Linked DNA regions of Homo sapiens: region 1 is linked to region 2. Evidence: promoter capture Hi-C in human tissues and cell types (Jung and others, 2019). All regions are on one chromosome and are shown on one strand. The core of a region is centred on a gene start or on the middle of the fragment in contact, and the rest is flanking DNA. Distances in the headings are between cores, read along the strand shown. Region 1 overlaps DNM3 (dynamin 3). Region 2 holds the start of C1orf105 (chromosome 1 open reading frame 105).

Region 1 (2,700 bases), core at 105-2,604, 150 kb after region 2:
GTTATCGGAAAAAGTTATGAGGAAATGGTAGTGCAGAAAATAGTCAAGTGAGTATATACTATAGGGGTCACCTAAGCCAAATTCCCCCATCAGGCAGGACTCTCTTCTATGACATCATTCACAGGTAGGATTTACCATTTGTTTCTTTTTGCCCAGACAGTCCCAGTTTATTGCCAAGTGCTGTCCCACACTAATTATTAATACTGTCCCCTTTTACTCTCAAGAGTGATGATAAATTAGGACACCCTACCAATAAGTTGTTATCTAGCTTCTGCTAAAGTGCTCTGGAAATGGGGGGAGGCTTGCTAACTCACAAGTTGCCCATTCTATTTTTAAAAAGCTATACTAAAAATATATACTATATATGTAATACATAAAATCTTAAGAGTATTAAAAACCTCTTCCTGATGATATGCTGATATCTTTTTCTGAGCCACTTTTACACATTACTAATTCAGTCCTCTGGAAAGACAACGCAGAATGCGAGTCCTTCAGTTCCATAAGGCAACTTTCATGCCTTCCTTAATTTTTGACAAGTTAAACATAAAACACTTCAGTAAGGAAATACTCTTCAAGGAGAAATTTCAAGGCAATAAAAATTATCTTTTAATAATAGATGATGTTACGGAACTATATTTCAGATGTTTTCATGGGAGCCAGGTTCTCCAAAGGAGTAGCAGCACCTGACAGTGTGCTTTCTCAGAACTTCTGGCTTGAGTACACTATGTGTGTTTCCATGGGCTGGAAACAAATATTTGTTTTCCAAGAGTGTCAGACCAGTTGAGCCATGTGAAAGAAAAAATTAATAATCATCTCTGGTGGGGAGAGGCAACAGAAGTTAGCAGGTAAGGTGGTTTTGAAAAGAGCAAGAAGGTTGAAATGTCAACAACTGTATCTTTCTCAAGTTTTTTTTTCTTCATTTATGATTCAGGTATTTGAAAGAAGGCACTATAAAGAAGCAGACATGCAGCATGCCAAAAAATCCAAATATTTTCCAGATTGTAGAAGAAAATTAGATTATGTTGAAAATAATTAATGATAAAATAACTTTAGTGACAAATATTGAGCCTGCATGTTCTTGTTCTGTATGTTCTATCATCTGTATATTCACACAGATGATAGCCTCTGTGTTAGAGGTATAGTTAATGGAAATTTGATCTATCCAATAATTTAATAAGTATCTGGACCATGTGTTCTAATCTATGAGATATAAGTGATATACACTTTGAATGGTTCTACCTGATGAGCCCACACTACCATAACTAATTCTACTTGTGCATCTAGCAACAGCTACACAGATGGCAAGTCATAGTTGTCTAGGAATAATTAACCTTGACTAGACAGTGCATGTGGCAAATTCAACCTTACATTTGTGATGGCCAATAACAGAGCATTGCTTCAGGTCCCAGAACTGCTTGTTTACTAGTGTATAATGACAAAAATACAGAAACAAAGAGTAAGCAGTTGGAAGCCCTTGTAGCAATTTGACACTGCTATGACATCCAAGCCCTGATCAGTGGACTAGTCTGTCTTGTTCAAGTGTTTAGACCAGTTTGAGTGCTGCTGAACTCATAAGGTGAGTCTCATGCCATGCAAGTTGCAAACTGCTCAGGCGTGCAATAGGACCTTGCATTGATCTGCAAGTAATTGAAAATTAAAAAAAAAAAAAAAACCTTCACTAGAGAAGGTTTAAAAACCAGTGTTTCAGGGAAATTCTCGGTTTTAAATTTCTCACCATTTTGATCCAAGATGAAGGATATTAAGCAAATAACCCTTGGCATACATAGCATTTAGTAAAAAAAATCCAACAGCTCAATATTTCTTGGCTTTCATCACTTCTCAGATCTATCACAGTGGAGGGGAAGGAAGGAAAGGTATGCATGATATCTTTACCCCAGACTAGAAAAGTGGCTCTCTCATTTGAGACTGAAGCCCTGTTCCTTTCCCTCTGGGGCAGAATTAAAGAGCAAGGGATATGCTTATGTTGTTGGTGATAAGGCTGTCCTCTTTAGTCACTTCTTCATTTCCACACATCCTTCTCAAACATCAACACATTTCTAGCATCTTCATCCCCTTTCAATCCTGAGCTAGTTGATGATTTCTCTCCCTGACACCATCTGCCCTGCATCATCACTCAGCAAAGAGCAATGGTAGTTAAAGGGAGTAAACAAATGCTCTGGAAATTCCATCACTGTTTCGGTTTTTATATTGGGGTTGAGTAGGAGGGGACTGAGTGACATGGCTTTCGATGCTAAGATAAATCTATCAATTTAGCTGACATGAGTTTGACTTTTCAGAGGTATTCTGTCTTTACCATCTGCTTTACGACAGTGTGTAGGGGACTTGAAAAATCAAATTTGGCAATCAATGTAATATTGATTCTTCACAAGTAAGAGAAACATCCAACAGACTTACTTATGCAATAAGCACACCCCCCATTGCATGAAAATACAGCTTAAGCTGATGTGACACCACTGAATCATTATATCACGTATTGCATAACTGCCATTTCACAATAGTCCTCAAAGTATTATCTGGGGACTACTGGGGTACACAGGACTCTTTCAGGAGTCCCCAAGATCCTTTCAGATGTTTCTCCAGATCAAAACCATTGTCATAATACTAGTTTGCTTTTTTCACTTTCATTCTGTTATGAATATACAGAGAAGTTTATCAAAAAGGGACATGATGTGATGATGT
Region 2 (2,700 bases), core at 22-2,521:
CTCCTCTGGCTAAGGGTGGTCTAAATGGTCCCTCCATTGGCAACAGCTAAGTTCTGCCCCGTATTGGCAGCACTGAATTCTAGAGTCCCACAATCGCTGTGCCCTCCCTCCAAGTGCACAGATTCTCTCTCCACACTATGTGGCTGCTGCCAGGGGATGGGGGAGGGGTGGTGTCAGCAATTCAAGATTGTCTTTCTTATCTTCCTCAGTGCTTCTTTCAACAATACGAAGTTAAAACCAGGTACTGTGATCACTTTGTGATCACTGATTTTTGGTTCTTATGAAGGTGCTTTTTTGTGTAGATAGTTGTTAAATTTGATGTTCGTGCATGGAGAACAATCAGTGAAGGCTTCTGTTTGGCCATCTTGCTCTGCGTCCTCCCCAACTTAGGATTTTTTTACTTTATCATGGGTTCATCAGGGTATTGCATGCATTTTTGACTTACAATATTTTCAACTTGTGGTGGTTTATTGAGATGTAACCCTATCATAAGTCAAGGAGCACCTGTACTATGGTAATAGAGACAGCTAGTATATCCCTTTAAATAGGAAACATACAGTGTCATAAGCTCAATGTGATTTATTCAGATTTAGACCCTAGTAATTATAAAAGTCTATACAAGTTTTTTTTTCTTTCTCAGCAATCTTAACTTCCTGTGACTGAGATTCATTGTTTTAAAGTGCATTCACAGTTGAGAAGGTTTACTTCAGAATCTCAGGGAACTGCACTAAAGAATCTGGTATCAATTTTCTGAGGATTTAAAAAAATCATACTTAAATGCTGAGTTATAAAAGATGTTGGCAAGTACAACATTTTTTCCAAACTATACGATAAAGAGCATTGAAATTTATCATGCCCCAAACCCATTAAAATTATCTTCACCTGTAACTGAACATCAGCTGTTATTTCCTTACCTTCTTTTGGCTTTCAACTTCTAGGATGTCTGTTGAAACACCCCTCAATGTTTATGTGGCCTCCAAGGCATACAAACATTTACCAGGGTAACCCCATAAGGAAAGAATTGGAAGTTTCATTTATTTTTTTCCTACCTTTAGTTCTCTTTTTTCCATCTTTCAGATCTTTAGATGTTCTGAGTTTTTCTAGCTGGAGACTGGGGAAACCTAGCTCCCCTCACTGTGGCCAGTGGAAGACTGCTGTGGAGAACCTGAATCCAAAGTGTTTTTTGTTAGGAGACGAAGTAAACAGGCCAGTTTACAGTTTCAATACCAGTATGCCTTTTTCTCTACCAACATCTGTGTGATTTACATCTTGAATCATATAATTCCATTCAGAATGAAAAGCTCAGTTTCTGATTGGCTGAAATGAGTTCTAGTATTCCTTTCTTTGTTAGAAGTCAAAATCACAATGTTCTGGAACATTAGCATGTGTTGGGTAAAGTTGATAACAGTATACTAAAACTCAGATAGCTGCTTCAGTACTGAAGTCAGAACAGTTCTCCCTGGAAAGACAACCAAACTTTTCTCTTATTGTAGCACTACATTGTAATTGCTTATTTAGCTATTTTGTAAGCTACTTTTATTCTGTTACTTCTCTGGTATTCCCAGGGTCCAGGACATTATCATGAATTCAAGAAATGTTTGATGCATAAATAAAGGAATGAAAATATATAAGGAATATTATGTTTACTAAAGGCATAATAGTTTGGCTCTTCCTGACTATCCTGAGTTATGATCAACTCTGAAAAAGGGAGTAATTTTTCAAGTCTATTAAACATAGCAGGGTGGAGGTGGAGGTAAGAAGAGTTGGGGAAAGGTATATTATGAAACATAGAAATACTATTTACTAAATACATATTAACAAATCTTAGCATAATTTAATTTTACTCCAGGCTGCCCCCCATCCCTTTCCCCTGCCCTCTTTTTTCTTGCCTATAGAATGTAAGGAAGGGAACACACTTCTTTGTTAAGGAAAACTGAGTAAGGTTGTCATTTCATTCTGTTATGACTGGAGTTTTTCCTTCTCATCATTCATCAGGTCAATTTAAGTTTTATACATCTAAACTGTGTAACACTGCATATAAAAATAAGTCCATGTTTAAGACAAAGTGGAAAAGTACCAAACACTTTTAAAAAATGAATTGAAGAAAACCTTCTCTTTGACAACTTCGGTTTTCATTTGGGGAGGTGGTATGAAATCATCTAGGTACATTTTTGTCTATTGGGATGAAGAATGCTATCCACTAAGAATATTGATTTAAAAATCAAATGCCTGGACTGGAGGGGAAGGAAAGGACAAAAGACTGCATGCTATGTGCTATTTTACATCAAGTCACCTCCTTCCTGCTATACATGAGCTTCAGTTGATGCCTTGGTTTGGAGCCTTTGAACTTTCTTAGTTATCACTGATTTTAAATGGTAGTCACTGGACCGGGGATACAATTAAAATAATGTAACATGCCATATGAACATTTTAAACCAAGAAACTGATTTTTCATTTTTGAGTGGAGAACTCAGTCCTTAAAAAAATTTGTGGTCCGAAGAAACAGCATTACTAATGAGGACTCTCCCTTTTACAACTGGGGGTTCCTGCCCACATCTTCCAAATACCTCCTTTGCCAGGGCTTGCCTAGGTCAGATGTGAAGTAAATAGAACTGATGAATGATTTTTTTGACTCTCTTGTCATGTAGTTTTCTGTCATCTTAATATGCTGAAGGGGAGCACATTCAGAAGTGATCTCAT

What was found. The method cuts DNA at HindIII sites, captures the fragments that hold promoters and counts their contacts. A contact is called where the count stands out against the background at its distance.
Region 1: a contact is called between a fragment that was not itself captured here and the fragment with the promoter of C1orf105 in region 2, in 3 of the 25 tissues and cell types used here (adrenal gland, dorsolateral prefrontal cortex and hippocampus).

The regions. Positions count from the first base shown.
Region 1 is chr1:172,273,696-172,276,395 of GRCh38, reverse strand. All of the region lies in intron 15 of DNM3 (dynamin 3), which reads right to left. Among named protein-coding and RNA genes, the nearest start is that of DNM3OS, 130 kb to the right of the region's middle. The HindIII fragment of the contact is 5,960 bases long and covers 1-2,700 here.
Region 2 is chr1:172,419,256-172,421,955 of GRCh38, reverse strand. C1orf105 (chromosome 1 open reading frame 105) reads right to left here and starts at 1,271. Exons shown (of 7, transcript NM_139240.4): 1 at 1,050-1,271. The coding sequence starts at 1,070. The region is part of intron 1 of LOC102724528 (a long non-coding RNA gene); the gene reads left to right. The HindIII fragment of the contact is 11,853 bases long and covers 1-2,700 here.